3 separate regions of the Homo sapiens genome follow, and regions 1 and 3 are each linked to region 2. The links are contacts of gene promoters, found by promoter capture Hi-C in blood cells and fetal thymus (Javierre and others, 2016). All regions are on one chromosome and are shown on one strand. Each heading gives the region's core, a stretch centred on a gene start or on the middle of the fragment in contact. The rest is flanking DNA. Distances are from core to core; before and after follow the strand shown.

Region 1 (3,654 bases), core at 849-3,348, 230 kb after region 2:
AAGAACTGTAACATTGTTTTAACTTCACTGAGTAATTTTCATTTGGATTTTATATTTTTTAACTAGTTTATACACATTATAGGACAAAGCAAATAGGTAACTATATTAATGTTGGTAGGAATCAAGATTTTCCGTGTAAGAGAAAAGGAAGACAAGAAAAAAAATTAAAGAACTTAAGTAGAAACCTTATATTGTTAATCTGAATTAAAAATATTACTATGTCCAACCCCACTAGAAACAAGAAAGAAATTACTATAAACTCTGAAAACACTTTTTTATTTAAAAAAACATGTATTTCTTAGCTCTGTTGACTGAAATGTTTAGAAGCACTGACAGCCCAATAGCAATGAGCACCCATATCACCTAGATTATGTCTCTAAACTCACTTCTCATTGAAAAGAATTAGGGCTCCCCAGAGAAATAGCTGATTTTAAGTCTAGGGCAAAGCTGATTTTAAGCCTGGGACAGCTTGCAATTGGGCCACTGGAGATTTCAGCACCCCAGCATTTTTTAGTATCTGAAATAATGAGAATTCTGATTAGGCCCTTGCTTGCTTGCAAATGTTAACCACTTGCTTTTTGCCCAAAATTCCTTGTTCCCACAATGTAATTATAAACTATAGATGTACCGTTCCTGTGCCAAGCAGCAGGAGATAACTCCAGTGTCACAAAAAAAGTTTGCAGAAAGAATGAATGCCTAGAGGGATGTCGTGACCAGCTGCTGATGCCAAGAAGTCTGGTTGCTCAAGGTGTTATCTCAGACTGAAGAAACAGACTTTTTTCCCCTAGATTTCCTGTAACTCCCCATCCTTTACTCTCCAGCCAAATAAAAACTCCCCGCCTCTTCTTTTTGTTAAGGTAGATTGGAGAGATTTTTGCCCTCCCACCTCATTTTGGGCAAATCAGATAAACCCTTCTCTATCTCCAAGCACCTTTGTGTCAGGGTTTGGCCTCAGCTGCATGCTGGGTACACGAGCCTGAATTTGGGGTTCTATGACATGCTTATGCCAGAAAGCAAGGAAAATACCAGCAGAACACACAGATCCACTTGAAGGTTTTCCGTTGTCAAATGTGACATCTGAGGATGTGAAAACAGTAATGACTACAACTGGTTGAAAAACATTGAATAAAGGCATATTTTATTTTATTGCACTTCACTTTATGATGCTATGCAGATGCGGATGTTTTTTACAAATTGAGGTTTTGTGGCAGCTGTGTGTTAAGCAAGTCTATAGGTGCCAACTTTCCACAACAGGTGCTCATCTCATGTCTCTGTGTCACATTTTGGCAATTATCACAATATTTCAAACTTTTTCATATTTTATCTATTATGGTGATCTGTGATCAGTGATCTTTGATGCTATTATTGTAGTTTTTGGGGGGTGCCATGAACCACGTTCATATAAGATGATGAACTTAATCAATAAATGTATGTTTTACCATGACTGCTCTACCAACCAGCCATTCCTCATCTCTCTCCTGCTTCTCAGGTCTCCCTATTCCCTGAGATACAATAATATTGAAATCAGGTCAGTTAGTAACTCCACAATGGTCTCTATGTGTTCAAGTGAAAATAAAAGTCACACATCTCTCACTTTAAATCCAATTCTAGAAATGATTACATTTAGCATGGAAGGCGTGTTGACAACCAAGGTAGCAGAGTAGCACTTTTACTTTCCAAGAACTTTTCTTTTGCACCAAACTTGACCTTTGCAGCAAACAGCCAACTTGTGAATGCAAAGGAAAAGTTCTTGAAGGAAAGTAAGTGCTACTCGGGTGGACACACAAACGCTAAGTAAAACAGCCCTATTGCTGGTATGGAAAAAGTTTGAGTGGACTCAATAGAAGATCAAGCCAGGCGCAACATTCCCTTAAGCAAAAGCCTAATCCAGAGCAACACCCTAACTTTCTTCAATTCTACGAAGGCTGAGAGAGATGAGTAAGCTGCAGAAGAAAAGTTGGAGCTAACAGAGGTCGGCTCATGAAGCTTAAGGAAGGAAGCCATCTCCATAACATAAAAGTACGAGGTGAGGCAGCAAGTGCTGATGGAGAAGCTGCAGCGTTATCCAGAAAAGCCAGCTAAGATCACTGATGAAGAGGGCAAAAGAAACATATTGTCTGTGGACAAAAAGCAGTCTTATATTAGAAGAAGATGCTCTTCAGAACTTTCATAGCTGGAGAAGAAAAGTCAGTGCCTGGCTTCAAAGCTTCAAGCAATAGCTGACTCTTTTGATTGGGGCTATTGCAGCTAGTGACCTAACATTGTAGCGAATGCTCATTTGCCATTTTGAAAACTCTAGGAAGAATTATGCTAAATCTGCTCTGCCTGCACTCTTTAAGTGGAACAACAAAACCTGGATGACAGCACATCTGTGTATAGCATGAATTGCTGAATATTTTAAGTCCGCTATTGAGACTTAATGCTCAGAAAAAAAAAGATTTCTTTCCAAATATTATCACTCACTGACAGTGCATCTAGTCACTCAAGAGCTCTGACAGAGATGTACAATGAGATGAATGTTATTCAACACAACATCCATTCTGTAGCCAATGAATCAAGGAGTAATTTCAACTTTCAAATCTTATTACTTAAGAAATACATTTCGGCCAGGTGTGGTGGCTCATGCCTGTAATCCCATCACTTTGGGAGGCTGAGGCGGGTGGATCACGAGGTCAAGAGATCGAGACCATCTGGCCAACATGGTGAAACCGCGTCTCTACTAAAAATACAAAGAAGAAGAGCTGGTTGAATGATGCTGTCACCATGAGGAAGTAATCAGGCAAACCTAGAATGTGGAACAATGTATATTCTATGCACATTGTTCTATGGGACAATTACACCAGGTTTTTTCAGTTAAGTCAATGGGAAGGGAAAAGAAGAGGGGAGAGGGGCTTGCTACAGATGTACAAGGGGGCATGACAACTGAATGTAACATGTGAGTCTCGCTTGGATCTTGATTTGGAAAAAAAAATCATCTTAAAAAGACATTTATTGGCCAGGCACAGTAGCTCACATCTGTAATCCCAGCACTTTGGGAGGCTGAGGCGGGCGGATCACCTGAGGTCAGGAGTTCGAGACCAGCCAGACCAATATGATGAAACCCTGTCTCTACTAAAAATACAAAAATTAGCCAGGCGTGGTGGCAGGCGCCTGTAATCTCAGCTACTCGGGAGGCTGAGACAGGAGAATCACTTGAACCTGGGAGGCAGAGGTTGCAGCAAGCCAAGATCACGCCATTACACTCCAGCCTGGGCAACAAGAGCAAAACTCCGTCCAAAAAAAAAAAAAAAAAAACAAGTTTATTAAACAGTCAATGAACTTTGAATATGGATGGACTGGGAATTAGATATTAATTAATTATTGTTATGAATTTAGGTGTGATAGTGGTAACTGGTTATATTTCCCTCTTTTAGGGACACATTGAAATACTAGGTGGTAAGTGCCATTTTGCCTGGAATTTGCTTTAAAATTCTTCAACAAAAAAGGGGTGCAAACAGGTGATTCAAGTGGGCAAAATGTTGATTATTTTAAAATCTGGATGGCTGCTGCTATGGATTGAATATGACTTGTATGTTCCCCACCAAATATTATGTTGAAATTTGATCCCCAGTGTGGTGATGTTGGGATGTGGGGTGCAGTGGGAGGAGTTCAGGT
Region 2 (3,725 bases), core at 319-2,818:
GACTCAGCGGCGCAAGAGGCCCCAAGTGCCCGAGGTTCCGCGATTGATTCGATTTCACACTTCCACCGAGACTCTCAGTCACTAGCTAGCGTTTGTTTCCCGTTCCACCAAGCCGGGAGAGGGGCGGTGTCCGGGTTCTTCTAGAGACCACTCCTGGGGCTCTCTCCCTTCCCGGGATTTCTGCCTTCCCGCCCCTCGTGCTGCTGAGCTAAAGTCTTGATCACAAAAACACAGCAAGGGGGAAGAAAGATCTACGCCCACCTCCGCACTCGCACCGAAGGCTCCAAACTCCGACCTCCTCTTTATTCCCAGAAACGACTCTGCGCTGAACCGCAGTGCCCGGGCACGCACAAGGGGCTTTCTAGGTCCTTTCGTTGTTTCCCTTCCCCCGTGCTTCTTTGCCCACGCACCCCACCCCCCCGCCCCACCACCCCGACATCAGATAGTTTATTATGAGCTTCTGATTTCCCTGTCCGACGCCGTACGGCGGCCCCAGCCTGGTGGACCCACCCGCGCAGGCCGGGGTGCCGCTGAGTTCCCGGAGCTCGGGGCACGTCAGCACAGCGGCCAGAGGAGGCCCGGCGGAGCTTCGGGCGCGGACCGTCCCACCGTTTTGCGCCAGCGCCAAGGTCCAGGAAGCCTGGAGTGGGAACAATCTCTCTGGAGCTCTCAGGAACCTAACAATCTCTCTCTCTGCCTCCTTGGCTCCTTTTCCTTCCCATCCTCCCAAGTTGCTTTTCTTGTGACATTAACATTTTTTTTTCGCAGTTTTTGGTCTAGGAAGTTAAAGAATTGTGCAAAACTGAAATTCTTTTAGAAATCCATGTTTTAAAACGAAAGAGAGGACACAGAAAATAAGAGACCTCTCCGCCACAATACTGCCAGGAGCAAAGCCATCACCGAACATGGACATCCCGTTGAAACCACACCAGAAGGGCCCAATAAACAAAATTGACAGAATGGAAGTGTTTAGGAAAAGAGATCTAATGAAAAAAAAATATTGAGACAGAGAAAGTCGGCATGCAGTCTTCCCACCACCCCCAGCCCCCGCTGGCAGCACCTTCCCTCCGACCGCACCTCTGTCCCTCAAACCTTTCCACTGAGACCTATTTTTGCCCATATTTCTCTAAACTTGGGAGCAGCCAGGAAAGAAAGGAGAGCGAATGTTTCAATTCCTCTCTCCAAACTCAGAGGAACCTCCACCAACCGCCTGGCCACCTTCTCTTGCCTTCCTTCCGTTCCTGATGTGTGATTTGGTTAGAGAAATTGGGAAGGGGGGTGGGGTGGAAGAAAGTTAAAAAAAAAATCAGGAAGGCGTAAGCTGGAGCGGTGAGTGTGTCAATCAGAGGGTTTTGTGCCTGGGGGCTCCTAGCGGTTCGGAGCAGAGGTGTCCCAGGGCGGCCCCACAATGAATATGAATAGGAATCCTTGCTAAATGGGACAGCAAAGCGCACCGCCCTGAATGATGGCACGTCATCCTAACCAGCCCAGGATAGATAGGAGGGCTCCTTTTGTCTCTTTTCTCCGCCGCAGCTCTATAAAAGCCCCTCTTTTTCAGCGTGAGGTTAGTTCAAGCACACACCAACTAGCTGTCCAGGAAGCAGCCTAACCAGAGAGAGGGGCGTGGGAGGGAGAGAGGCGGGGAAAAGCAGCGTCTCCGCTTTTCTTCTCACGTCTTGCCGCGGAGAAGTGGGTTCCTGGGCAGTGCAGATTTTTTTTTTTTAATTCAAGATTTTCTTTAATTTCCCGCCTAAAGCCTCCCCACGGTAGGGCCGCATCCCCTGTAATAAAATGAATTCTGATTCGAGCTCTGTCTCCAGCAGAGCTTCATCTCCGGACATGGATGAGATGTACCTGAGGGACCACCACCACCGCCACCACCACCACCAGGAGAGCCGTCTCAACTCGGTCTCGTCCACGCAGGGCGATATGATGCAGAAGATGCCCGGGGAAAGCCTCTCGCGGGCTGGCGCCAAGGCCGCGGGAGAGAGCAGCAAGTACAAAATCAAGAAGCAGCTGTCGGAGCAGGACCTACAGCAGTTGAGGCTGAAGATCAACGGACGCGAACGCAAGCGGATGCACGACCTGAACCTAGCCATGGACGGGCTGCGCGAAGTCATGCCCTACGCGCATGGGCCGTCGGTGCGCAAGCTCTCCAAGATCGCCACACTCCTGCTCGCCAGAAACTACATCCTCATGCTCACCAGCTCCCTGGAGGAGATGAAGAGGCTGGTTGGCGAGATCTATGGGGGCCACCACTCGGCCTTTCACTGCGGGACCGTGGGCCACTCGGCCGGCCACCCCGCGCACGCGGCCAACTCCGTGCACCCGGTGCACCCCATCTTGGGCGGCGCGCTCTCATCTGGCAACGCCTCGTCACCGCTGTCCGCCGCCTCACTTCCCGCCATCGGCACCATCCGGCCTCCCCACTCGCTACTCAAGGCGCCCTCCACGCCGCCCGCGCTGCAGCTGGGCAGCGGCTTCCAGCACTGGGCTGGTCTGCCCTGCCCCTGCACCATCTGCCAGATGCCGCCGCCGCCGCACCTGTCCGCTCTCTCCACAGCCAACATGGCCCGGCTGTCGGCCGAGTCCAAGGACTTGCTCAAGTGAGCAGCGGGCGGGCCCGGCTGCCAAGGAGGAGGGAGAGCGGCGGGAGGGGCCGCGGTGCCGGGCCGGGAGGGAAGAGGGAGGCTGCACGCTCGGCCCACGGGAGGGCAGGCTCCGGGGCCCGCAGCCTCCCACGCTGTCTGAGAGATCTCAGACTCCACTTGACCCCCGGAGGGAAAGGACCAAAATCAAACCGCAATTTCTAGGTGGTAGCAAAGGGGGACTCGAACCAGATGTCGTGTGTTTTGCATGCATGCTTCTTTTCCCCATGCCGCGCCAGTATTTTTCACTGCCATATGCTCTTGTCAAAACTGCATTTGTTGTATAAAGATGGGATCGGTGTAGTTAAAAACTTGCGAAGGGACTTTTGAGTTGGCTTTCTCTGACTCTGTGTTCTCGCTTTGGAAAAAGACGGCCATCCCTTTTGTGCAAAACAAATGTAAATATTTTCTTGAGATGGATGCGATTATGATTGTCTCTGTCCTTGCCACAGTTTTTCTAGAGACAATGGAGAGAGAAAGAGAGAGAGAGCGCGAGAGAGATCAAGACCCAAGTTTTGAATCTCAACCGAGGTCCAGGGCATGACACCTCCTATGTGGGTTTTCCTTTCGACGCAGTGTAGGTCAAAAGAATGCATGCACGCTTCTAAATGAATCTTGTCTGAATATGTCGTGCAGGCTGTGGTGCCGTTTTCCTTGTAACAAGGATTTATTAGTGAATTATCCCAAGTACTCCATATATCTGTCTGTGGTTGTATGAAATGAAAAAAGGGGCAGAGTGCAAAGACCCACACTCACGCACACGCGCTTCTTCTCCCACCCCCACCCCCTTCAAACTTTATTCGGAACCTTCCTTTGCTGTTCTGGGGCCGCTATTGTAAAAGCCTGGGCTCCCTCTAGTAGCTTGCGCCACCCCCCCTCGCTCAGTTATTCTGCATGCGGGGTTGGCTCTCTCTATTATCAGCTTTGAAAACTTATCCTGGTTTTGGGAGGGGTGCCGTTTTTATTTTCCTGAACATTTGCTTGAAATATTTTGTTAGGGCCTCAAAGACGATACCTGTCTTTATTTTTTATATATTCTTGATAACTATGATATATTTATTAATAACCAGTGTTTCT
Region 3 (3,489 bases), core at 201-2,700, 140 kb before region 2:
TTCAGAGCAGACTAGGGGAGGAGTGGGAGCAGAGCTGAAAGTGAACTTGCAGTAGACCACCATACACTTCAAGGAGAATTGACTTTTTCCCTAACAGAAAAAGGGAAAGTTTCATGCTTTAAACTGTAGAGTACATGCCTGTGTGTCTTTTATTTTTCACTTATGTTTAATTAGATCTGAGAACAGGCTTACTGCTAAAGCTTAAATAATTAACTAGCATTTATTTGTAAAAGATAGATGGCCATAACATCATCTAGCAAAGTGGAGAAAATATAACTGGATTCTGTCTCTATCAAGAACATCCAGAAAGAGAGAGAGGTAACCTGGAAACTCTGTCAGAGGATAGTTCTTAGTCAAGGTAATCGCACAATACAACCTCTGCTTTACCATATAAGGAAATTAAACTTCTGGCTCCAGTTGCTGCCAGAAGTACTGACTATGGTAACTCCTGCTGTACAGCTCTGGCTCATCAGACCCTGCAACTCCAGCTTCCTTCCAGCCCTAAGGTGGTAGCAGCTTGCTGCTATTGTATTGCTAAGCACTGGGTTGTTTCTCGCTGCTCCTTATTTGGCTTCTCAGCTTTCCCATTATTGGTGAAACCAATTCCCTGTAACAAACTTTCTCATTGTGAAATATCTATGATGGTTTCTGGTTTTGTTTTTGTTTTCTTCCCAGTGGGTATCTGAATGCTATAGAGAGAATAAGAGAACTCTATACACACTTTAGAAATGAGAAAGAGAAAGTCCTATTTCTATCTTCCTATTTTAACATTGTTTAGGCTATTATTTCGTTATTTTGTGTCTTTCTTAATAGGTAGCTTTATGAAGCAAGCAATACATCAGCAAACAGATCTTGAGCACTTCCTTTCTATAGTGTACTTTAGTCATCTCTAAAAAATAATCTGATAGAACTGTTGCTTTCAGCTCACTATCACAGCAAACAATTGCAGCTCACCCTGATAAAGATAGCTGCAAATGGAATTTCCTGGACTCCACCTGTCTTCTGAGGCTTTCAGCTGTCTATGCCATATCCTCTCACATCCAGACACAAGAGTAGAGGCTGGAGCATTGTCACAGCACCTTAGGACCTTCCACGTCCTGCCTAAGTATTTCACTGACCACTGTGAGCCCAGGAATTGCCAAGGGAGCAAGTCCAACCACAGCTGCAGCAGAGTGCACTGACAGGGCAGGCCCATAATGGGCACTTGCCCATCTGTTGTGCAGTTAGTTTTTGGCCTTTTTAATAGAGTAGTGTTAGAAACATTGTAACAACTGAACATCCACACCTAAGGGGTCAGAGATGGCCTCATTAATAGGGGACCCTAAGGCAGCCCTTACTTGAAACTCTCCAAGAGAGATATACGTGTATTTTCTGTCCTTCAGAAAATGCAATTTTTTTCTGGACACATTTCTAATGATTTCACTTAATAACCACGTTTTATGTAGCTTTGAATTACTAGAGCTATCTAGTTATTATGAACCACAGGATACGATGTCAGAATCTCAAAGCACAAGAGAAATAGGACTAACTAACTTATACAAAGTAATTTGGAATTTGCAAAGTACTTTCACACTCATTAGCTCAATTTTTTTTTTTGAGATGTAGCCTTGCTCTGTTGCCCAGGCTGGTGTGCAGTGGTGCGGTCTCAGCTCACTGCAGCCTCTGCCTCCCGGGTTCAAGTGATTCTCCTGCCTAGCCTCCCGAGTAGCTGGGACTACAGGTGTGCACTGCCGTGCCTGGATACATTTGCTTTTGTAATTTTGGTAGAGACAGGGTTTCACCATGTTGGCCAGGCTGGTCTCAAACTCCTGACCCCAAGTGATCTGCCCGCCTCAGCCTCCCAAAGTGCTAGGCATAAGGTACCGCACCTGGCCCATTAGCTCAATCTCGCTGATGGTTTTGGACATTGTTCTGGCAAAAAAAGATGAGGCCTAGAAGTGCTACCTCAAACAAATGATTTCAGAATTAAAATGAGGCAATATTTTAAGTACTTTCTACTCCTGCATGGGCAAAGTCATTTTTTTTGATACAAATATTTTCTGTCTTTTGGAGAACCCTCTATAGCAGTGGCTCCCAACCTTTTTGGCACCAGGGAGTAGTATCGTGGAAGACAATTTTTCCGTGGAAGTGGGTTTGGGGAGGGGATGGTTTTGGGGTGAAACTGTTCCCACCTCAGATCGCCAGGCACTAGATTCTTATAAGTAGCCGGCAACCTAGATCCGCCGTTCACAATAGGGTTCATGCTCCTATGAGAATCCAATGGCCCCACTGATCTGACTGGAGGCGTGGAGCACAGGCGGTAATGCTCACCCACCCACGGCTCACCTCTTGCTGTGAGGCCTGTTCCTGACAGGCCACAGACCAGTATGGATCCATGGTCCCGGGGGTTGAGGACCCTTGCTCTGTAGCATACATTTGAGATCTCGTCTTATTCTAATTGTTGCAAGCAATACAACATCAGAATTTCTGGTTATGGAGTCTTGGGCCTCTTTTTACTGATTTGGAAGGAAATTTTCAAAATTTGCCTAGTTAAGCAGTTGACTCCTTTTGCTTTAGTGAGCTCAGTCTTATTATATCCAGTGTTCTTGCTATATCTCTTGATAATGAGGCTTTATACATATATATATATACACACACACACACAATCATACATACGTGTATAATGATACCTGTATATATGTATAATAATAATGAAGCTTTGTATATAAAGCCTTATCATATAAAGCCTGTGTGTGTGTATATATGTGTGTGTATATATATATATACACACATACACATACATATATATATATACACATACACATACATATATATATACACACATACTGACAGGCCACAGACCATATATATATATGTGTGTGTGTGTGTATATATGTGTGTGTGTATATATATATATATACACATACACATACATATATATATACACATACACATACATATATATACACACACATACTGACAGGCCACAGACCATATATGTATATGTGTGTGTATATAATGTGTACACACACACGTACACATTACTATATATATATAGTGACAGTGTAATTTATTTATAGAGACATTTAAACTCCATGACATGGACAAGCCCAAAGCTATGGTTCTCTCTACAATGAGCCTATTTACATTTTCCTTATACAAGAGAAACTTTCTAAAGATCTTCTTTACTTTTTTTTTTTTTTGAGGCGGAGTCTCACTCTATTGCCCAGGCTGGAGTACAGTGGCGCAGTCTTGGCTCACTGCAAGCTCCGCCTCCCGGGTTCACACCATTCTCCTGCCTCAGCCTCCCAAGTAGCTGGGACTACAGGTGCCCGCCACCACGCCCGGTTAATTTTTTTTGTATTTTTAGTAGAGACGGGGTTTCACCGTATTAGCCAGGATGGTCTCGATCTCCTGACCTCATGATCCGCGCGCCTCGGCCTCCCAAAGTGCTGGGATTACAGGCATGAGCCACCGCGCCTGGCTGACCTTCTTTACTCTTAATCCTAG

The links. The method cuts DNA at HindIII sites, captures the fragments that hold promoters and counts their contacts. A CHiCAGO score of 5 or more calls a contact.
Region 1: a fragment that was not itself captured here is called in contact with the fragment with the promoter of OLIG3 in region 2 in 1 of 17 cell types (naive B cells); the score reaches 5.1 in naive B cells.
Region 3: a fragment that was not itself captured here is called in contact with the fragment with the promoter of OLIG3 in region 2 in 1 of 17 cell types (non-activated CD4 T cells); the score reaches 5.9 in non-activated CD4 T cells.

Annotation. Positions count from the first base shown.
Region 1 is chr6:137,267,040-137,270,693 of GRCh38, reverse strand. No RefSeq gene overlaps it. Among named protein-coding and RNA genes, the nearest start is that of IFNGR1, 49 kb to the right of the region's middle. The HindIII fragment of the contact is 220 bases long and covers 1,989-2,208 here.
Region 2 is chr6:137,492,237-137,495,961 of GRCh38, reverse strand. It overlaps OLIG3 (oligodendrocyte transcription factor 3), which reads left to right and starts at 1,568. Exons shown (of 1, transcript NM_175747.2): 1 at 1,568-3,725. The coding sequence starts at 1,792. The coding sequence ends at 2,610. RefSeq lists enhancers at 1-477, 2,159-2,658. The HindIII fragment of the contact is 6,431 bases long and covers 1-3,725 here.
Region 3 is chr6:137,628,472-137,631,960 of GRCh38, reverse strand. No RefSeq gene overlaps it. Among named protein-coding and RNA genes, the nearest start is that of LINC03004, 35 kb to the left of the region's middle. The HindIII fragment of the contact is 2,496 bases long and covers 203-2,698 here.